Regions from separate parts of the Homo sapiens genome. Here all the other regions are linked to region 2. Evidence: promoter capture Hi-C in 16 types of primary human blood cells and fetal thymus (Javierre and others, 2016). All regions are on one chromosome and are shown on one strand. The core of a region is centred on a gene start or on the middle of the fragment in contact, and the rest is flanking DNA. Distances in the headings are between cores, read along the strand shown. Region 1 holds the start of ZNF607 (zinc finger protein 607). Region 2 holds the start of ZNF420 (zinc finger protein 420). Region 3 holds the start of LINC00665 (long intergenic non-protein coding RNA 665). Region 4 overlaps ZFP82 (ZFP82 zinc finger protein). Region 5 holds the start of ZFP14 (ZFP14 zinc finger protein). Region 6 holds the start of LOC107985304 (a long non-coding RNA gene).

Region 1 (3,741 bases), core at 1,123-3,622, 640 kb after region 2:
GTTAGCCAGGATGGTCTCAATCTCCTGACCTCATGATCTGCCCGCCTCGGCCTCCCAAAGTGCTGGGATTACAGGCGGAAGCCACTGTGCCAGGCCCAAAATTCCATTTTTAAAAAATGAGCTGCGGCTGGGCGTGGTGGCTCACGCCTGTAATCCCAACACTTTGGGAGGCCAAGGTGGGTGGATCACCTGAGGTTGGGAGTTCAAGACCAGCCTGACCCACATGGAGAAACCCCGTCTCTACTAAAAATACAAAAAAAAAAAAAAAATAGCCAGGCATGGTGGCCCATGCTTGTAATCTCAGCTACTCAGGTGGCTGAGGCAGGAGAATCGCTTGAACCCGGGAGGCGGAGGTTGCAGTGAGCAGAGATCGCACCATTGCACTCCAGCCTGGGCAACAAGAGCGGAACTCAGTCTCAAAAAAAAAAAAAAAAAAAAAAAAGAAAGAAAAAGAGTTGCATATATAGTTTGAGAACTGTGATCCACCACTGTAACTCTAAATAGTGTTAAACATTAGATCACAGCTATTTATCCTGTGACAGATTCTTTACAAACATAAATCTTATTATTTGTATAATATCCAATCCCTTGGACGCTGTATAATTTTCTTAACCATTCCCATAATCTCGTTCATTAGTTTTCTGCAAAACCATTCAAAGGTATAAAACTCTTTGATTCCAGATCTAAAACCTGAGTCTAAATAATTTGGATTATGGACATCCTAGAAAAATGCAAATTAACAAACATGTACAGGAATTCTTTATAGAATTTCAGGGGGTTTGTGATGTCCCTTATGCCCATAAGGGCATTGGTCTACAGACAGTACACCAATGACCGAGAATTCCTATTTTGGAAAACTTAAATTCTGGCTCACTTCCTTCACATCACGGCTAAGTTCATATTCTTGTTGCTTTTGATCTACAGAAATCCAAAACGGAATATCCAAAATTGCCTCATAATACTTAGCGCTTATGTTTCCCCCCTCCAAGGCTGCAGGCGCGTAATTTCATACACACGACCAGAAGGAAGTATGTTGGATGGAACCTGCAATCATCCTTCACTGCAGGTTCTTGGGGTCAGAATTCAAGGCCGTGTTTGTTAAACATGTAAATGAAACTCCAAGAACCGGGAGGTGGGGGCGGAGTAACAACCCTTTTCAGGAGGGAATCCTACACTCGAAACTGACAAACCCTGCCAGACCAAATTTTAGTCAGGCTACTACACCTTCAGCTAGGCCCATCTGTACACTTCACTGTAAAATCTGGCTATAGCAAAGAACTATTCTAAGTCAGTTTAGCAAGACCCTTTCGCCTCCGTATCTTCATCCTCCACCGTCCCCCAGGTCTCTCTCTCCAGAAATAATCCTGTTAGGTGCGTTTAGTCAGAATCTTCCTTAACCCAGACATTTCCTCTTAGTAATTTCTCATCCAGTGATCCCTAACCTTCTTGGCTATAAATTCCCACTTGTTCATGCTGAATTCGGAGTTGAGCCCAATGTCTGTTACCCACTGCAAAATCTCACAGCCGGGATCCCAATACCTACCACCATGGTCCTGAATAAAGGGTTCTTTGCATGCTTTAACAAGTGTCACTGAATACTTTTTTATTTAACAGAATCTATCATACCTTTCTTAAGGGCAATTACTCTTCTAAGCTTCTCATCCTATCTGTTTCTTCTCACTGGAAATCTTCATCTAAGACTCAGTATCTGATTTCCCATTGGGACCATTTCTCTGTTGTAGTCGTACTAGGCTGAGGAAGGCACAGGAAGCAGCAGGGAACCTGGAGCCAAGGGTCAATAGACCCCACAGAGCCCAGCGAAGCACGCTTTACAAAGGACACACACGGCATGTACAGGTCACACAAGGTCGACTACGCACCCCTCACAGTCCCGCAACTGCACCCACGTCACACAGGCAAGCCGGTCCTGTCGCCGCTGCGCGGTCTCTCACGCTCCCCGCCTGTCTCCTAGAGACGGGCCCCTCCTCCGCAGCTCCAGCACCCTAGGGCCTGAGGAGGCGGGAGACTCGCCCGGCCCGCCTGGGGGCCTCCGCGCTCTGAGCGCCTCCTGCAGCCCCACTCTCACCGCCACGCAGGGTACCACGCGGGCGGCGGGCTGGGGCTGCAGAGGCTCCCGCAGTGACCTGCGCCGCCTTCTTCAGGTGGAACCAAAAGGTCCCGGAACCGGAGCCAGGGGTCCAAGTTTTCTCCGTTGCCTTTGTAATATGTAGTCCAAGCCAGAACAGTCAGGACCGCAGGTACCGGTGAGAAATGGAGTCCAGAATCCTAAAAACCTACGAGAAATACGGCAGCGACCACTTGGACCGCGCCTCCCACCCACCGCTCGAGCCCCGGAGACTTCTGGGAGTGGCCGCCTTGCCTCGAGTGCGCATGCGCAGATCGGCCACTACTGGGCCCCTGGCCTGAGGCTTAGGGTGGAGTTAGTGCGTTCTTAGGGCCAGTAGGAGGCGAGTCTGAGTAGAAACTGATCCAGGTAGCCTCGGAAGGGATCACCTGCTGGATGGGTGTGAGCTCCTCAGGGTGGGGCGCCGAAACCCTCATGGCTCCTGAGGTAGAGCCGGCCTCCTTGGTAACACATGGGACTGGGACTTTTAATACCACCCGACAGGCCCAGCTTGTCTCGTCAAGCGCTAAGTAAATGGACTCACGTCCTATATGAGGGTTTGAAGTTCCATCACATTCTTCAATACATGACATTATGTTCTTCATCTTTGGACACGAATATATTTGACTAAAAATTTGACTAAAAAATCATCTGAAGAAATAACTGCTAAATAGTTTTATTATTTTTGTTCTGGAATAGGCTTCTTGAAGATAAAATAAGAAATTTAAAAAATTTTTTTGATCCTTCATGTAATACTTTGTAAATCTTCATAGTTATTTAGAAGCATCCAAAATTTCCAAATGGTAAAAAACGAATAAGAAAAATTTTTAGGTAAGTAAATTTGGGGGAAATATTTACAACAGCTAAAACGGACAAATATTTAATAGTCCGAATTTCCTGTTTCTTTGGCTTAATAAAATATTGATGAATACAGGCTGGGCACGGTGGCTCACGCCTTTAATCCCAGCATTTTCGGAGGCCAAGGCAGGAGGATCAGTTGAGGCCAGAAGTTCAAAACCAGCCTAAGAAACATAGTGAGACACCCCTCTCCTCCTCCCAAACTCTACCAAAAATGAAAGTTAGCCTGGTGTGGTGGCACACGCCTGTGGGCCCAGCTATTCCAAAGACAAAGGTAGGAGGATCAGTTGAGCCCGGAAGTTCAGGCTTCAGTGAGGTATGATGGTGTCACCGCACTCTGGCCTGAGCAACAGAGCAAGACCTTGTCTCAAAAAATAAATAAGTAAAATTAATTTAAAAATAAAAAATATTTGTCTATACCCTAAGAGGAAAAGGAACAAAACTAAAAAATCACCATTCAAAAATACAAATAGTCAAGGAAAAAAAACTATTAAAGTTACAATTTAAGAACTTATTGATCACTTTTTCTTCTCTTAATTAGTTCTTGGATTTGTTGCTCCTGAATCTCCTGAATAATCTCTCAGAAATACCACACATAGATCAATGGATTAAATTGACTCCACATATTATTTTCTTTTTCTTTTTTCTCTTTTTGAGACGGAGTTTTGCTCTAGTTGCCCAGGCTGGAGTGCAATGGCACGATCTTGGCTCACTGCAACCTCCACCTCCCAGGTTCAAGCGATTTTCCTGCCTCAGCC
Region 2 (3,516 bases), core at 238-2,737:
ATTCCCTCAAGAATTCTGATCACCAAATTTGCTATTCCAGTCACATTACCGGTAAGAGATCAATGTATTTGATATATGGTCTTGCAAGACCAAGTTTTATTAATTTTTTTCCCTCTGAAGGAGTGGTGAAATTATACTCTATCTTCTCTGTGCTGGAAGTTCACAAGTTTTTGATTATTCAAAAATCATAAAAGGCCAAGAGGTCTTGAAGTAAGTAAAAATAAGTTCAGGTTTACCAACAAACTCTACAGCCTTAAGTTACTTTCTGCCGGCCAAGGTTTTCTCATCAGAAAATGAGGACAAGTGTTTGACCTAGAATTTGGGAAATCTGACTAGTGCTGTACTGTGCTAAAATTCACTCTTCTTATGTATAACGTTGTTTTATTATTTTATTAGTTGATGGCCTCTCAACCGTACCCAGTAATAAGAGAAACTTTACCCTCTAATTAGAAAATAATGGATATCTACTTTTGGCCTGCTGTGGCAGAGGAAAAGGCAGTTACCCTAGGACTGGTTTTGAAATAATCTTTCTAAAAACAAAGAAAAAACTACGTTAATTTTGGATTCTTCCCGATAACACATATATTTGATCCAATAGAAAAATGATGTCTAAATTACTTGTCAGATAAATTGATTATCTTTTCCAGATTATTACATTACTATTTAAGGAAGAAATAACTTGGCCATAGTATTTTCACTGTCACACACGATCACACACAGCTCATTTGCTCTTGGCACCCTTACAGACACTGAAATACAAGCACAAAGAAAGCACGTTTATATAACACAGATCACCAGTTACTCAATTACGGCCACACACAAAAAAGCAGATATACATACAGATACCCTTCATAAGCAAACCACAATAGAGATCTGTGTAAAATCGTCTTACTCTGTTAGACGATTCTACACAGTTATAAAATCCCATTACTACGCAGCTTAAAGTACAAATCACCTCACACCCCACAGCAGGAAGAATCACACACAGGCAGAAACACAACCATACACACCCGGCCACGGAAAGACTCTCAGTCCACCTGGCATCTCCCATTGTCACACACACCCCAAGGGCCTGGGAGGGCACACACAGGGTCCTCTGCAAATCCGAGGTTCCGGCGGGTCCCCGCACCGGCCCCAGCTCCTCCCCCGCACCTGCCTGGCCGGCGGGTCCCACCCTCTCTCCTGCCAGGGGTAGACCCTGGGACCACTCAGCTCGCTCTCGCAGGCCCTGAGCGTCTGACGCCTGCGCACTGAGCGCGGGCGGGCGGGCACTCCCAGAAACCTCCGGGGCGCTGCAGGCGGGACAAGCAGGTTCCACAGGCCGAGCCCACGAGCCCCTCGAGGGGTGAGCGGCCCGGGCCTCCTGGCGTTCTGGCCGGCTAGCCAAGCGCTGGACTACATTTCCCAGAGGCACGGCGTCCGGAGCGCTGGACTACATTTCCCAGAGGCACCGCTCCCGGAGCGTAGCTTCATTTCCGTTAGTTTGCGAGATTTGGAGGCCTCGCGTGGGGAGAGGGCCGCGTCTGTGGAGGAGCTTGGCTCCGCACCTGCTGGGCTGGCGAACCCGAAATTGGGCTTGGAACCCGGGAGCCAGATCTTGGACCCTGAACTGCACCTCTGTCAAGGTAGGAGTGTCCGGGATGCCGGAGCGGACACGCGCGGAGAAAGCGTCGCTGGGGTTACTCGTGTGGCCGTGTCTCCGGTTTTGTGTGCAGGCTACAGCCTGCCTGGTATTGGCGACTGCCTGTGCATACACGACTGGACGTGTGTGGCTGTGGTTTTGTGTATGAGCATTTGTATGAGTGTGAGTTGTGACTCTGAGGGTGTTTGTGACTGTTTGCTTACCTGGCTGGGATATACTTATGTGACTGTGATTTTATGTGTGCCGCGTGTATAATTGGGGTTTGCCTGTGACTATGAAGTGTGTGACAGTTGTGACAAGAGTGTTTGGATGTTCTTGTGTCACTTTGAGGTTGTGTGTAAACCTGATATCGTGGGATGGATTTGCCAGTAAATTTAAGGTGTGTGACAGTGTTGCTGTGACACGGTGTTTATTACCGCGTGTTTCCCTGATTTCGTACTGGGTTGGGTGACTGTCTGATTGTGTGTGACTGTGGGGTTGTGTGTGCTGTTTTCATGACTGTGTAAAGAGACTAAAATTGCAGCTTTGAAAGGGTGTTTTTGGCGGTATGTGTCTCTGACAAGGTGCTTGGATGTAATTATATGCCTTGTACTTAATGGGATTTTGTTTGAGACAAGGTGGTCTAACAATGTAGCATAATTGGGTGATTGTGCCTCTAGCTGTGTAACTGTGGAAATGTGATTATGTGTGACTTTATGTGGCCATTTGTATATTCTGTGACCTTATGGGGGTTTAGTCCAGTACAGAAGTAAATTTCTTTTTGGTATTTCTGGGGTTCATTTGGGGCTGAGGTCTGCCTATGGATTGTGAGTCCCATGTGGCTCTGTGCTCCTCCCATGTGGCTCTGAGGACTTAAGGACTTTTTGATTTGACCACAGTGGCTGCCCTTTCATCCATGGCCTGTATTGCTTCATTTCTGTATCCATCCTCGGTTCACCTTGGGAAATGTAGTTACTTACGAGTTCACGACTTCTTCCCTGCGTCCTCTTGCCTTATAGCCTTAAGGGGATTGGGTGCAGGGAAGTGGCAAGAAGTAAGGAAGTCAGACATTTGGACACCTGAGTGATGAATAGGAGTTATTTGCAAGTTACAGACCTGGTCTTAGGATGAGAATTTTAGGGCTGATAATACCTTCAAGACAGCCACTGGATGCTGTGCGCGGTGGCTCACATCTGTAATCCCAGCGCTTTGGGAGGCAGAGGCGGGTGGATTACCTGAGGTCATGGTTTCACCATGACCTCTACTAAAAATACAAAATTAGCTGGGCGTGGTGGCGCATGCCTGTAATCCCAGCTACTTAGGAGGCTGAGGCAGGAGAATTGCTTGAACCCGGGAGGCGGAGGTTGCAGTGAGCCAAGATCAAGCCACTGCACTCCAGCCTGGGCAACAAGAGTGAAACTCATTCTCTAAATAAATAAATAAATAGGCCACTGGAAATATAATGGGACTCCAGGAGTGGGAATAGTTTCAGAGGGAGTGCTTTAGGAGACAGCCACCCAGTTCTGAACCTGAAGCACCCCACTGCAGGACTGTCTCCAGTGTACAGCTTTGAATACAGAAATAAATTCAAGCCCAAGACAGCTGTGACCTGGCCCTTCTTTCTGATACAGAAGGTAGAAGACTTATTCTAGTCTCCTCCTGACTTTTCTTTATGTTAAATGAGATTAAGAGGATGGAGGAAGAGGGTATGTTATAATTTAGCATATTCCCCAAGAAAGGCCTAATATCTCATTCCATTTTTCTTTTTCTGAGAGTAGAGCCCAGAGGAGAAAGAATGGCTGTTTCAGTAGCAATGTCCAAGGTGAGTATTTCCTCTTTGTTTCCTGAAATACCTTTGTTATTACAGGACATAGACATTTTTGTTTTCTTTTTGA
Region 3 (3,809 bases), core at 602-3,101, 750 kb before region 2:
GAGCTACAAACTGGAGGACAAGCGCAAGCCCTTGTCCTCCCCCATTCATTCACCATTCACACAGAGTTTATAACAGTTTTTCTTTTTTCTTTCCCAGAGATTCTCCAAGAAACCTGAACAAGGAAAGATTAGAGATAGAAAAAGAGAGAGAGAGAGACCAGTCTGCCAGAAACCAGGACTCAGTCCCCCAGCATCCTGGGATGTGGACTGACTCAAGGGATGGCCCCTGTCAGGGCCACTTCCCTCCCAGACAGAGACACAGAGGCGTCTAACAGAAAACCAGGGCTCTACCCTCTAGCATCCTAGAGAAATGGGCAGAGTCAAAAGAGGGACACCCTCATCAGGGTCGCTTCCCTCTGCCAGAACCAAAGTCAAATCTGACCTACCTGACCCCGGGGTCAGCAGTTGAGGACTCAGAGGTGGAATTTTTGTGGGCACCCACATGGTAGTCGATCCGCTGTCCTCCGGAAGACGGTCACCCTTTGGGGACCTGGAAATTTTTTTTTCAGGTGGCACTCCCCCCTACAAGCTGGCTGTCCTTCCGGGGGAGCACACAGCGGGCCCGGCTCTCGCCCGGTGACGTTTCTCCCGGTGACGTTTCTCGCTGGGGCCTCCAAATGTCGTACCTGAGCGAGTTAGAGAAAACGCCACACTTTGAGACAAATTAAAAGTCCATTTATTTAGCTGGCCGCCAAGAGATGGCTAATGCTCAAAATTCTCTCCGCTCTGAAGAAGGGGCTAGATCTTCTTTTATACTTTGGTTTAGAAAGGGGAGGGGAGGTCTAGTTAAAACAATTTTACAGAAATAAAGTAAGCAAAAAAGTTAAAAGGATAAATGGTTACAGGAAAGTTAATAGTTCCAGGTGCAGGGGCTTTAAGATTATTACAAGGTGATAGACGCGGGGCTTTTGGGCATAATCAATCGGATGAATTCCTCGGAACTGCGGATATAGCTTGCCACAGTATCTTAACAGTTAATTGCATTCTTGGATGTGCTGGGAGTCAGCTTGCACAAGTTAAGTCCTTGAGGAAGGGGCTGCCAGTGAAAGAGCCAAGATGGAGTCCATCTGGCGCTCTTAGCTAAGGGAGAGTCAATTCAGGTGGAAACAAGGCTAGGTGATTTAAGGAAAGGGAGAGTCTAAAAACAGGGTTAGTAAAAACCAGGTTGGGCATTACACTACTAAGATATCAAAACCAGGAACTTACTTCCTTTAAAACAATTCCAAACTAACTCGCTGTGCCTTACACAGAAATTTCCCCCAAGAAATATGGTTTTATAAAGCCTGAGAAGTTGTTGCTATTAGGACAAACACCAAAACTAAAAATTGGTTTAATTAGCAACAACAAAATTCCATTTTAACTGGCTGTCCTTATCAGAGACAGTCCACTAAATAATACAACTGGCAAAAAGTGAGATTTTGTAAAGGTTGGGGTGCTTTATTATAAACATAACATAAACCAGGAATGTATTTTAATAAACCTCAACCTGCGGGTCACTCCCTCCCAGGCGTGCAACAAAACACCTGCCTAGAAATCAAAAGGCGTTTTACCCGAGTGGGCTGAAAAAGCCCCGTTTTTACCTTTAATCTGGAGACAATACGGGTCAGAGGTCAGGAAACTACATCAGCGCCAGTGCGAGCGCCCACGAGTCCGGTGGACGGATGAGAAACGGCCGGGGGGCAGCCTGAGTCCCAGTTCCCGCCGTGGCAATGGCCAATTTCCCACCCGTGGACGCAAAAGGCCAGGACTCCACGCTGCTGACCCTCCAGCGTCCCATGTCCGGCAGGCACGTGGCCGAATAGCCCAAGACTGAGGACTCACACTTCCCACTTTGCACCTGGAGGCCACCTGCAGACCAACCTTGCGCCAGGCTTCCGGAAATGGGAGGGCGGGCTTCCGGAAACGGCGGCCAATGGGAAACGTGATCAGATGTTACTAGGCAGACAGTCCGTTTCCAGGCAACACAGAAGAAAGGAACGCGCTCAGTCAGCCTCAAATAGACGGAGATTTCAGCCAATGGATGTGCAGGTTCCCTCCACATTAGCCAATAAGAAGTGCTTGGGGCCTACCTGCCTACAAGCACAGCAAAAGCTTTCCTGCGCATTTTTGCGCTGGAATGGCTACCTGCCGCGCCAAATCAAAATTTACAATCACCCTTGGTGCTGTTTCCTGCACTTTCTTGGAGATTTGCACCAGGCGCTGGAGACCCTCCCACCTGGCCCATGCCTGCCACCCGGTGAACACCAAGACCCAACCTTCTGCACCACCAGTCTTGTTGTCAGCGAACAGGCTAGTAAATTATTGAAGGGGTGGCCTGCCCCTCCACACCTGTGGGTATTTCTCGTCAGGTGGAACGAGAGACTGAGAAAAGAAAGAGACACAGAGACAAAGTATAGAGAAAGAAAAGTGAGCCCAAGGGACCGGCGCTCAGCACACGGAGGACCTACAGGGACACTGGTCTCTGAGTTCCCTCAGTATTTATTGATCATTATCTCTACCATCTCGGAGAGGGGGATGTGGCAGGCCAATAGGGTAATAGTGGGGAGAGGGTCAGCAGGAAAACGTGAACAAAGGTCTCTGTGTCATAAATAAGTTTAAGGAAAGGTGCTGTGCCTTGATGTGCACTTATACAAACATCTCGGTGCATTAAAGAGCAGTATTGCCGCCAGCGTGTCTCACCTCCAGCCCTAAGGATGTTTTCTCCTATCTCAGTAAGTAGAACATACAATCGGGTTTTACACCAAGACATTCTATTGCCCAGGGACGAGCAGGAGACAGATGCCTTCCTCTTACCTCAACTGCAAAGAGGCCTTCCTCTTTTACTAATCCTCCTCAGCACAGACCCTTTTCGGGTGTCGGGCTGGGGGATGTCGGGCTGGGGGACAGTCAGGTCTTACCCTTCCCATGAGGCCATATCTCAGGCTATCACATGGGGAGAAATCTTGGACAATACCTGGCTTTCCTAGACAGAGGTCCCTGCGGCCTTCCGCAGTGTATTGTGTCCCTGGGTACTTGAGATTAGAGAATGGTGATGACTTTTAACAAGCATATTATCTTCAAGCACTTTTTTAACAAAGCATAGCCCTAAATCCATTGAACCTTGAGTCAACACAGCACATGTCTCTGTGAGCACAGGGTTGGGGCTAGGGTTACAGATTAACAGCATCTCAAGGCAGAAGAATTTTTCTTAGTACAGAACAAAATGGAATCTCTTATGTCTACTTCTTTCTACATAGACACAGTAACAGTCTGATCTCTCTTTTCCCCACAGAAGGGAAGGGAGGGAGGGAGGGAAAGAAAAAGAAACCTTAAGCATTTTTTACAGATGAGGGTTCTGCTCTCCCTTAGTTCAGCCATGCTGTGGGGGAAGGGGAAGGAGTGTGGTAAGATGGCAGAGGAGGAAATAAAATATGGATGGCTTCTGCCTTTTCAGTTCTTTTCCTCATTTCCTGGCTTACTGTCCCTGGTTTCTGACTGCTTTGTGGTGAAGCTTCAGAATTGGAGAGAAAAAGAGGCCAGAATTGGTGGCTTATGCCTATAATCCCAGCACTTTGGGAGGTCGAGGCAGGCAGATAACTTGAGGTCAGGTTATAAATGTTTAATACCTAAAATGATCAATACCTAAAAAAAAAATTTTTTTTTTGAGAGGGAGTCTCATTCTGTCACCCAGGCTGGAGTGCAGTGGCGCGATCTCGGCTCACTGCAACCTCTGCCTCCTGGGTTCAAGAGATTCTCCTGCCTCAGCCTCCCGAGTAGCTGGGATTACAGGTGAGCACCACCACGCCCAGCTAATTTTTGTATTTTTAGTA
Region 4 (3,481 bases), core at 564-3,063, 660 kb before region 2:
TTCAATTAATGCCTTGTTTCACTGCTGCTACTTCTCATGACTTCTTGACCAAGCTTTTGTTTTGTTTCTGAAAGAGTTGTTTTAGCCATGAGGCCCACCTAGGAGCTGCTGAATCTTCTTGTGCTGTTCATTTGCATCAACATCATGAAAATAAAAACTATAAGGCACATGCTTATTACATAAAATCCATTACCCCACAGGAACCCCATGAGTTTGGTATTATTTGGTCGTGACCTGACAATGCTTGCTACAATCAGCTGTCTGCTTCCCATGACCTCTCAAGCCATGCCACCTGAATTCTTCAATGACTTTACCTCACCTATCTCAGTGTTATTCTTGCATAGGCTTATCTACCTTGAAAGACAACAAACAATGTAAGGATATCAACCATGTCATTTTGGTCACTGTATTTCCCCCAAGGACTGGCACAGGATCTGGCATATTGTGAGTACTTTATAAATGTCTCATAATTCAACCCAGAAATTCCACTTTTAGGAATTTATCGTTAGGAAATATTTGTAAAAGTATACAAAGATGTATTGCAAGAGAGTTCATCAAAGAATAATTTATTGGCCAGGCATAGTGGCTCATGCCTGTAACCAACACTTTGGGAGGCCGAGGTGGGCAGATCACTTGAGGTCAGCAGTTTGAGACTAGCCTCGCCAACATGACGAAACTCCATCTCTACCAATAATACAAAAATAAGCTGGGCGTGGTGGCAGACACCTGTAATCCCAGCTACTTGGGAGGCTGAGGCAGGAGAATCACTTGAATCTGGGAGGCGGAGGTTGCAGTGAGCTGAGATTGCACCACTGCACTTCAGCGTGGGCAACAGAGTGAGATTCTGTCTCAAAAAAAAAAGAATAATTTACGACAACCTGAAATCAAATACCTAACAGTAGGCAACAAGTTGAATAAATGATGTTCTACTATATTATAGCACATTATGCAATTATTAATGATGGCATTGGCCCACATTAATTAAAGAAGGAAGATATTCATGATAAATTACTAGCTATGGGAGTCAGACTAAAAGAATATGTACAATGTTGGGAGGTGGCAGACTCTCAGTTATTAAAAATACAGGCTTTGTTATCAAGATTCAGGATATGAACAGAGCTCTGAGAATTATTAACTGTGAGAATTTGGACGCATTAATTTTCAGTGTCTCAGTTTCCTCAGATATAAACTAAGGAATAAACAGTACCTACCTTATAGGGTTGTTGTGAAGGTTAAGAACATAATACATAAAGCACTTAAAATGGCTTACTGTAAGCACTAAATTCAGTGAAAAACATCACATACCCCTCATTCCACTATTTTAAAAATTATCTTCAATAATTTTTTTTTTTTTTTTTTGAGATGCAGTCTCGCTCTGTTACCCAGGCTGGAGTGCAGTGGCAAGATCTCGGCTCACTGCAAGTTCCACCTCCCGGGTTCAGGCCAATCGTCTGCCTCAGCCTCCCGAGTAGCTGGGACTACAGGTGCCCGCCACCACGCCCGGCTAATTTTTTGTATTTTTAGTAGAGACGGGGTTTCACCATGTTAGCCAACATAGTCTCGATCTCCTGACCTCGTGATCCGCCCGCCTTGGCCTCCCAAAGTGCTGGGATTACAGGCGTTAGCCACCACACTGGCTTCAATAATTTTCAATTTAAAAATTTGGTATTTGCTGATAAATTATCTTTAACAATTTCAATAGCAGTCCCTTTCTCTAAAGGGATTTTTGAGATTTTTGAGATTTTTCAGCATTGCTCTTAAAACATTGATAAATGTTAGAACTAGGCTTGAAAATGTAATTCTACTTTTTTTTTTTTTTTTTTGAGACACAATCTTGCTCTGTCGCCAGGCTGGAATGCAGTGGCATGATCTCAGCTCACTGCAATCTCTGCCTCCCGGGTTCAAGTGATTCCCCTGCCTCAGCCTCCCAAGTAACTGGGACTGCAGGAGCATGCCACCACACCCGGCTGATTTTTTGTATTTTAGTACAGACAGGGTTTCACCATGTTGGCCAGGATGGTCTCGATCTCCTGACCTCGTGATCTGCCTGCCTCGGCCTCCCAAAGTCTTGGGATTATAGAGATGAGCCACCGCACCTGGCCTATGTAATTCTTCTTAATAATGTTATCAAAAAAGGATTCACAGAAATCAAAAAGTAGAGCAAGGCCCCTGTTACTTTCCATCCCTAGTAGCTCCAAAGGGACACCATTCCATATCATAAAACCAGCTCAAGAATTTTGCTTTGATAAGGTATCATATTAAATACTTTTTTTTTTTTTTTGAGACAGTTTCGCTCCTGTTGCCCGGGCTGGAATGCAATGGCAAGATCTCGGCTCACTGCAACCTCCACCTTCCGGGTTCAAGTGGTCCTCATGCCTCAGCCTCCCAAGCAGCTGGGATTACAGGCATGCACCACCACGCCTGGCTAATTTTGTATTTTTAGTAGAGACAGGGTTTCACCATGTTAGTCAGGCTGGTCTGGAACTCCTGACCTCAGGTGATCCGCCCACCTTGGCCTCCCAAAGTGCTGGAATTACAGGCGTGAGCCACCAGGCCCAACCTCTTTTTCCTTTTTCAAACAAAGTGTTGCAGAGTCTTTGTCTCCTTAAATGATCAATTGTTGTGATTCTATTTTGGAAAACAAACACATGTGCACAAGTGCACAGAAAAAAATGGAAAAGCAAACATTAGAATAGTAATATTTATTGTGGATGGTGAGACTACGGGCAACTTAAATTTTATTCTTATAGAGTGAAGATGACTGGGTGGTAGGGGATGGAGAAAATCTGTTCTGAATAGTACTAAATATAGTTGGCAGCTTAAACCAGGACTTTCTTTTTTTTTTGGAGACTGAGTCTCACTCTGTCACCCAGGCTGGAGTGTAATGGCAGGATCTCGGCTCACTGCAACCTCTGCCTCATGGGTTCAAGCAATTCTTCTGCCTCAGCCTCCCAAATAGCTGGGATTACAGGCAGGCGCCACTGTGCCCAGCTAATTTTTCTATTTTTAGTAGAGACAGGTTTTACCATATTGGCCAGGTTGGTCTCAAACTTCTGACCTCAGGTGATCTGCCCACCTCAGCCTCCCAAGTGTTGAGATTACAGGCGTGAGCCACTGCGCCCAGCCAATTAAACTATTTTCATACACATAGAATTAAAAACAGAGTTGTGAAGAAGGAATATCTTTTAGTTGTTAAGAAAATTGTGATTCTATAAGCCTGTGACATGAGTGGGTTTTGGGAAAATAAACAACAGTGTGGCACAAATAAGTAACACCCATCAGTTCTTTAACTGTTCTTCATCAAAACGATGGGCTATTTTCACTCTCAAGATTCTTCTATGAATGAACACAATCAAGCGACATTCCTAAATTCAGTAAAAGTATACCAAAGCAGACAGAACAGTGTGGTAAACAACAGTTTATCTTTTTTTCTCCACTAAGAAACTAGTTTTATATTATGTATAATCCTTGCAAAATGTTT
Region 5 (3,707 bases), core at 978-3,477, 700 kb before region 2:
CTGATAAATACGTGGCCTGAAACACTCATGCTGTCAAAAACTTCAAGCCACTTTCCAAATTTCTACTGTCTTCCCTTCCCTTCTAATAACCCCTTCCCTTGTTAACACAGACCTCTCCACTAAAAACCCCATCGTATTGTCACTCCTTAAAAGCCTCAAAAGCAGAAAAGATCCTGTCGCCAATCAAACCACCTCCTTTCCCTGCTTTTGAACTCAGGGCGGTGGGGATCAAAGAGACCTAGTGGGTAATTCCATCTAAACTGTAAACTCCTCAACTAATCACCATCGAATGAAAGTTCTACGTGGTGGCTCACGCCTGTAATCTCAACACTTTGGGAGGCTGAGGTGGAAGAATTCCTTGACTCCAGGAGTTCAAGATCAGCCTGTGCAACATAAGGAGACCTCATTTCTACAAAAAAATTTAAAAATTGCGCGTGGGACCACGTGCCTGTGGTCTCAGCTACTCAAGAGGCTGAGGTGGAAGGATCGCTTGAGCCAGGGAGGTCCAGGCTGCAGGGAGCGAGATCACTTCACTGCACTCCAGCCTGAGGGACAGAGTGAGACCCTGTCTCTAAAAAAAAAAAAAAAACTTAAGTAACAAAATAAAGCTCTGCAGTTAGCTTCTCTTCAGGAGGTTTACTTCCAGACCATCCAAATGATTAGAAAGAGGCAGCTCATAAGAGAAACTAAATTACTGCCAAATGCTCATGTCAATACCTACTGGAGGCCGGGTGCGGTGGCTCATCCCTGTAGTTCTAGCTACTTGGCAGGCTGAAGCAGGAGAATCCTGCTTGAACCCGGGAGGCGGAGGTTTCAGTGAGCACATCGTGCCACTGCACTCCAGCCTGGGTAACAGACCCAGACTCCATCTCAAAAAATACAAAAAAAAACAAAACAAAACAAACCTACTGGAAAGGGGTAGGAATTGGAATCTACCTTCATCACCCCATCATTCACTGGGAAGGAAGGCCAAAGCACCAGGTCAGTGGACAGGACATTTCAGGGGTTAAAGTCTAACTAGCTGAAGATTAACTGGAACAAGCCCGCATAGTCTGACAAAATCATATCTATTGACTGGCAGAAAGGGAGAAAATTCCACAGGAAGGGTTGGAATAGAATGGACGAGAGAGACGAGAAAAGCTCTTTCGTAAACGGTTGAGTTCCAGCTGAAAGATTCTAAGGAGGATCTAATGACAGCTGCAATCTGGAATGGCTGCTGTTTCCGAGGTGAGATTAGGAGAGGCAGGGATTAATGAGATATTGAATGCAATCATGAGTGTAATCAAGAGGGTATCCCCAGTAATAAAATGAAAACAGCAAAGCAAGTCTAGAACATCACTGGTAAGAAAACTGTAATCTCTCAAAGAGGGAGTCATTATGCCATTTTACAACTACTGCACCACCTGGGGAGAAATCATGTTTTCTATTAATTTTGCAACTGGCTTTATCTGTCTCTTCCTTCCTAGCCTGATTAATGACAGAGCTGCTTCATTGTTCAGTCCGAGCTGATTTTCATTCCACAGAAGAGGAAAGCAAATGCCCCCACGCCCAGAAAAAATAAAAATTACACTTCATGGAACAAAACGGAAACACAAACTCATCTGGATGTTGACTTGTCTATATGCAACAGCAATCATTTCCTCCTCTCCCCGCTGCCTTCCTAAAGAACAGCAGGATTGGGAAAGGAGACGGGAATCTTGAGACCGCGGGCCTTTCCTGGAGCCGGCCTTGGCTGAGCAGGACACACCCCCGCTAGCGCACTTGCTCCCTCCGTCTACTGCGCGCAAAACCCGATGGAAATAACAGGGAGCCTGGAATAAAGCTGACCCTTTCCCGTATCAGAGCGAAAGGCCAGGTACACGAAGACGGGGCTGGGATCTGTCTCCGAGTTCCCCGCAGTTTCCATGGGAGGGAGCTCGGGTAAAGCTGTGCAATCTGCAGTTCTTCAGACTGCGTCTTTTTGTTTGGGGGCCTTCATTCACTCCGGGGTTCCTGTATCTAACTCGGAGCCATTCCGGGCCGCTGGACCTGGGCGGCTCTGAAGCGAGAAGGCAGAGGACGCAACAGGGCACCCGGCGCCCAGTCAGCGCCACAAACTCCACAGCTACTGCCTCCTGGCTCACACTGAGGTCTGCGCCGCCCCCGCGCCACCCCCGCGCCCATTGCCTCGGTGCAAGCGACCAACTCACCTCTCGGAGCCGACACCAGCAGCGAAGCCGGAAAGAACTGCGAGCGGAGGCCTGTGGGAAATGTAGTCCGCCGATGGGAGGGACTGGTTCCAGCCCCAACGGGCTGCGCGGAGTGCGCATGCGCGGGGGCCGGAGCCCCGGGTGCGCTCGGGGCGGGAAGGCCCTCCGCGCTGCGTGGGGCTGAGGCGAGCTCGGGCTTGCGTTTGCTTTTGTCGCTGAGGAAGACTTTTATTTGTTTATTTTCTTGAGACAGGGTCTTACTCTGTCGCCCAGGCTGGAGTGCAGTGGCGTGATTAGAGCTCACTGCAGCCGCGACCTCCCGGGCTCAAGCGACCCTCCCACCCGAGCCTCCAGAGTAGCTGGGACTGCAGGCGCGCGCCACCACGCCCAACTCATTTTTTAAGTTTTTATAGAGACCAGATCTCCCTATGTTACCCAAGCCGGTGTCGAACTCCTGGGCTTAAAAGATCCTCCCGCCTGAGCCTCCCAAAGTGCTGGGACTACAGGCGTGAGCCACCAGGCTCAGCCGCGGAGGATTTAGAAAGAAGTTTTGGCACCAGCAGATGCCTAATATGTGTACTAAACACCTACCAGTTACTCACTGCATACACCCAAGCAAGGTGTGGGCACACATCAGGCATGCAATGAAAATACTCTCAAAGCCCACCAGAACCTGGAGCAGGACGTAAACCTAGAAAGGTCGCTCGTGCTCACTGCCCTCTCCCTTTCTCCCACTCTGTCTCTGTCTCTGTGTGTGTGTGTGTGTGTGTGTGTGTGTGTGTGTGTGTGTGTGTCTCGTATCTCCTGCAGTTGTGAATGTATTGTTCTACTAAAAATACAAAAAATTAGCCGGGCGTGGTCGCGCGCGCCTGTAATCCCAGCTACTCAGGAGGCTGAGGCAGGAAAATCGCTTGAACCCGGGAAGCGGAGGTTGCATTGAGCTGAGATCCGCCATTGCACCCCAGCTTGGGCAACAAGAGCGAAACTCCGTTTCAAAAGAAAAAGACTAACTGGAGAGGTCTGTCTCCAATGAGACTGAATTTGTCCTGTCCTGCGTTCCTTCAGGAAAGAAATGGGATAAGCCCACCAGGGACCACCCTGAGGCATCTTCTGTATCCCAAATTCTTTGATATATTAGTTAATACATGAAAGAATTTGTTCTTTCCTTAAGAATATAAAACTTTAGAAGATATTTGAAAATGCCTCGGCAATCTGGTTTCATTTTGCAAACAATAGGATATGCATGAAATAGGAGATAAATGAAAAATCTGAGCTACTTTATAACTACTAAGAAGGTGGCCAGACGCGGTGGCTGACGCCTATAATCCCATCACTTTCGGGGGGCCGAGGCGGGTGGATCACCTGAGGTCAGGGGTTTGAGACCAGCCTGGCCAACATGGTGAAACCCCGTCTCTACTAAAAATACAAAAAAATTTAGCTGGGCATGGTGACGCACACCTGTAGTCCCAGCTACTCGGGAGGCTGAGGCAGAAGAATCGCTTGAACCAGGGAGACGGA
Region 6 (3,972 bases), core at 1,132-3,631, 840 kb before region 2:
CGCTGAGTTGACACAGCACATGTTTCAGTGAGCACAGGGTTGGGGGTAGGGTTACAGATTAACAGCATCTCAAGGCAGAATAATTTTTCTTAGTACAGAACAAAATGGAGTCTCTTATGTCTACTTCTTTCTACACAGACACAGTAACAGTCTGATCTCTCTTTCTTTTCCCCACACAGCCTGGGCGACAGAGCAAGACTGTCTCAAAAAAAAAGGGAGCTCTCCCATATAACAAAATACCGTTTCACACCTTAGAAGATTAACCATGTTGTCCTAATATTAGACTACCCAGTCTATGTTCACATTTTTCCAATTGTCCCCAGAATGCCTTCCATAGTTTTTTAAAATTACAGAATGTAATCAGGGTTCAAGCTTTGCATCTGGTTGCTCGCCACCACGCCCGGCTAATTTTTTGTATTTTTAGTAGAGATGGGGTTTCACTGTGTTAGCCAGGATGGTCTTGATCTCCTGACCTCGTGATCCGCCCACCTCGGCCTCCCAACGTGCTGGGATTACAGGCGTGAGCCACTGCGCCCGGCCAGCCAGCATCTTTTGTCTTCAGCTGCAGAATGGTGCTGCAGGTCTTACCATATATGTGGGTTTAATCTCTGATTTCCGTATAGCAGCTCATTCCTGTCATCTCATTTGCTGAATGCCCCTGAGCTCTGATTAAAATTCTGCAGGGGATAAACTTCCATTTCATATGAAGGTGTGTCCAGTCCTTTGTTCTCGTGACTGGACAGTGCATGTTCAACTGTTCCTTACACTTTTTTTTCAGCCACCATCCTTTATTCCTTTTGAATAAGGGAATTTGTACCATTTTCTCCTTATAATTTTAATGGGGTTTTGGGAGGAAGCACTTGTTGGTTGATCTATTCCTTTTCTTAGAAAGATGAGCATTATTTAGCCAGGTATGGTGGTGCACACCTGTAATCCCAGTTACTCAGGAGGCTGAGGCTAGAGAATTGCTTGAACCCAGGAGGCGGAGGCTGCAGTGAGCCGAGATCGCACCACTGCACTCCAGCCTGGATAACGAGCGAAATTCCGTCTCAAAAAAAAAAAAAGAAGAAAGAAAGATGAACATTATTTTTCTTCCTTAGCATCCCAGGTAGACTTTCTAATTTTCATCTTTTTCTTCTATTTGGCAATTCTTCATTATTTGTTATACAACTTGCTAAATTCTGAAATGGAAAGGTTATTTTTCAAGAGTACTTTCAGCTTTGTGGACCCATGAATGTTAATTTTCTACCTAGATCACCTCAAGTAGGGTTCCCTTCTCATAATTTAGTTGGAAGCATTAATAATATAGATTATTTTCATATTGGGAGATGGGCTACCAGAGTTAATCTCAAAAAATTTTATTGCTAGTAATGGGAAAATTAACAAATAAAAGTGATAGTAATATAAAGGTAAAATGAAGGGCTTACCATATGGCAGCCATGGTTCTGGGCACTTTATGAATTTAACTCCTTTGTGCTATGGTTCTTTGTACTCCATTTTAGAAGAAGCCTGAGAAGATGATGCACAGATAGAGAGGCACCAGGACTTGAGAGGCACCAGGACTTGGGAGGCATGTTGATCCATCTCCAGGAAAGACTGAGAAAAAGAGCGTTGAATATAAGAAAAAATACTTCCTCTGTTCTCAGATCGTATTTGTTTTAAGGCCACACCTTTTTGAAGTTTTCAGTTTGAAACACAACCTGGACTGAAATCATGAGGGAGGTTGTGTAGGAAAGAATCATCAAGGGACTTAGTTGGGAGCTTCTCTACCACAGCTTACTCCTTATGGTATTAACCCCCTTTAAGTGTAAATGTCTTTGGTTTAAAACGTTTGTACCTCATCTGTTACCAGAGTGTTCATACTGGAGAGAAACCCTATGAATTTACTGAATGTGGGGGAACTGTTACTCATATGTTGCATTTCGTCGAACGTGCAAGTCATGCTGAAGAGAAACCCTGTGCTTCTAAGGAGTATTGACAAGCCCTTAGCTAGATGACAATCTCATTGAGAAGCAGAAAATTCATGCTGGAGAGAAACTAGTGAAGGTAGCAATACTTCATTGAATATTAGAAAATTTTTCTAGAGAGAAAGCATTGAATATACTGAGTATGATAACATTTCCTCTCAAACCTTATCCCTTACTCTGCATTTGGGAGATCATACACAGAGAAGCCTTATAAATGTAAGAGATGTGGAAATATCTTCAGCCAAAAGTAAATCCTCACTCATCAAGAAATTTTTACTGGAGAGAAACCTTGTGAATGTGGGAAAGCTTCCATTCAGATGTCACACCTCAGCCAGCAGAGAATTTACAGTGGGGAAAACCCCTTTGCCTGTAAGGTATGTGGAAAAGTCTTCAGCCACAAATCAAACCTCACTGAGCATGAGCATTTTCACACGAGAGAGAAACCTTTTGAATGTAACGAGTGTGGAAAAGCCTTTAGCCAAAAGCAGTATGTCATTAAACATCAGAACACCCATACTGGCGAGAAGCTTTTCGAATGTAATGAATGTGGAAAATCATTTAGCCAGAAGGAAAACCTCCTTACGCACCAGAAAATTCACACTGGAGAAAAACCTTTTGAGTGTAAAGATTGCGGGAAAGCTTTCATTCAGAAGTCAAACCTCATCAGACACCAGAGAACTCACACAGGAGAGAAGCCCTTTGTATGTAAGGAGTGTGGAAAAACCTTCAGTGGCAAATCCAACCTTACTGAGCATGAGAAAATCCATATTGGAGAGAAGCCTTTTAAATGTAGTGAATGTGGAACAGCCTTTGGCCAGAAGAAGTACCTCATAAAACATCAGAACATTCACACTGGAGAGAAACCCTATGAATGTAACGAATGTGGAAAAGCCTTCTCTCAGCGAACATCACTTATTGTACATGTGAGGATTCATTCAGGTGATAAACCTTACGAATGCAATGTTTGTGGAAAAGCCTTCTCTCAGAGCTCATCTCTCACTGTGCATGTGAGAAGCCATACAGGGGAGAAGCCCTATGGTTGTAATGAATGTGGGAAAGCTTTCTCTCAGTTCTCAACCCTTGCTCTGCATTTGAGAATACACACAGGTAAGAAGCCTTATCAGTGCAGTGAATGTGGGAAAGCTTTCAGCCAGAAGTCACACCACATTAGACACCAGAAAATTCATACTCACTAAAAACCCCATGAAAGCCTTGAAAGTGGGAAAGCTTTCATTAGAAATTTGCACCTCATCATGCCCCAGAAATAATCCTTCTGAAGCAAAGCACCACGAATGAGGTTAACTTTAACAAGTACTAAAAACTTAAGGGACACCAGAAAATTTGTACTGAAGAGAAAGACATGCATATGATTAAAACCCTGTGTCCAACAGAGAAACCTGCAGCAGAGATAATGGTGAAAGTTTAGGCACATTTTCACTAAAAGTGGGAACAGAAAATGGAGGCCTGTTTTTTATTGCTACCACCATAGATCTGGAGATCTTCGCCAGTAACAAGAAAAATTAAGTTGTAAATATTGGAAAGGAACAGACAAAAATAGATGACATGGTCATCTACAACTAATATTAAGACTCCTGTGGTATTGATTGAGCAGAGCAGAAGAGATTTCAAAAAAAGACCTATGCATTTATTAGAATTTGGAATATGATACAAGTGGCATCAGGAAATGAGGAAATAATGGAACTATTTTTTTTAAGTGGAGGTAGTTTGTTCTCCAAGGGGGAAAAATAGACCATGAACTATACACAAAAGTGAATCCAGAGATTAAAAACAGAAATATGGAAAAGCTATGTACTAAAATGCATATGACCTTGGGAATAGGGAAACATTCCTTGGAACAATTTGAGAAATACTTAGCGGTTCTACTTATGAGTATGAATGCTCAGGAAATACGCACTAGGATATTTACTGTGGCTTGATTTGTAGTAGCCAAAAATTAGAAACAACTGAGAAAGCCCATCACGAACAATATGGGAAATTCTTATGT

The links. The method cuts DNA at HindIII sites, captures the fragments that hold promoters and counts their contacts. A CHiCAGO score of 5 or more calls a contact.
Region 1: a contact is called between the fragment with the promoter of ZNF607 here and the fragment with the promoter of ZNF420 in region 2, in 1 of 17 cell types (M2 macrophages). The highest score is 6.2, in M2 macrophages.
Region 3: a contact is called between the fragment with the promoter of LINC00665 here and the fragment with the promoter of ZNF420 in region 2, in 4 of 17 cell types (total CD4 T cells, total CD8 T cells, M0 macrophages and 1 more). The highest score is 7.3, in total CD4 T cells.
Region 4: a contact is called between a fragment that was not itself captured here and the fragment with the promoter of ZNF420 in region 2, in 2 of 17 cell types (activated CD4 T cells and naive CD4 T cells). The highest score is 6.6, in activated CD4 T cells.
Region 5: a contact is called between the fragment with the promoter of ZFP14 here and the fragment with the promoter of ZNF420 in region 2, in 13 of 17 cell types (fetal thymus, naive CD8 T cells, total CD8 T cells and 10 more). The highest score is 16.0, in fetal thymus.
Region 6: a contact is called between a fragment that was not itself captured here and the fragment with the promoter of ZNF420 in region 2, in 3 of 17 cell types (fetal thymus, naive CD4 T cells and M0 macrophages). The highest score is 6.3, in fetal thymus.

The regions. Positions count from the first base shown.
Region 1 is chr19:37,717,389-37,721,129 of GRCh38, forward strand. ZNF607 (zinc finger protein 607) reads right to left here and starts at 2,373. Exons shown (of 5, transcript NM_032689.5): 1 at 1,881-2,373. RefSeq lists silencers at 1,875-1,964, 2,025-2,134. The HindIII fragment of the contact is 3,190 bases long and covers 1,653-3,741 here.
Region 2 is chr19:37,076,946-37,080,461 of GRCh38, forward strand. ZNF420 (zinc finger protein 420) reads left to right here and starts at 1,488. Exons shown (of 5, transcript NM_144689.5): 1 at 1,488-1,625; 2 at 3,400-3,443. LOC105372390 (a long non-coding RNA gene) reads right to left here and starts at 1,252. Exons shown (of 2, transcript XR_001754095.2): 1 at 1,153-1,252. RefSeq lists a silencer at 944-1,233 and an enhancer at 1,324-1,563. The HindIII fragment of the contact is 14,557 bases long and covers 1-3,516 here.
Region 3 is chr19:36,329,867-36,333,675 of GRCh38, forward strand. LINC00665 (long intergenic non-protein coding RNA 665) reads right to left here and starts at 1,852. Exons shown (of 6, transcript NR_038279.1): 1 at 1,581-1,852; 2 at 387-626. The HindIII fragment of the contact is 13,687 bases long and covers 1-2,089 here.
Region 4 is chr19:36,412,560-36,416,040 of GRCh38, forward strand. The region is part of intron 1 of ZFP82 (ZFP82 zinc finger protein); the gene reads right to left. Among named protein-coding and RNA genes, the nearest start is that of ZFP82, 4.3 kb to the right of the region's middle. The HindIII fragment of the contact is 3,525 bases long and covers 52-3,481 here.
Region 5 is chr19:36,376,974-36,380,680 of GRCh38, forward strand. It overlaps ZFP14 (ZFP14 zinc finger protein), which reads right to left and starts at 2,228. Exons shown (of 5, transcript NM_020917.3): 1 at 2,190-2,228. RefSeq lists a silencer at 2,335-2,424. The HindIII fragment of the contact is 12,200 bases long and covers 1-3,707 here.
Region 6 is chr19:36,234,157-36,238,128 of GRCh38, forward strand. It overlaps ZNF146 (zinc finger protein 146), which reads left to right. Exons shown (of 4, transcript NM_007145.3): 4 at 1,503-3,972. The coding sequence starts at 2,285. The coding sequence ends at 3,163. It overlaps LOC107985304 (a long non-coding RNA gene), which reads right to left and starts at 1,596. Exons shown (of 2, transcript XR_001753933.3): 1 at 1,428-1,596. It also overlaps a transcript of ZNF565 not described here. RefSeq lists an enhancer at 1-420 and a silencer at 2,218-2,418. The HindIII fragment of the contact is 221 bases long and covers 2,272-2,492 here.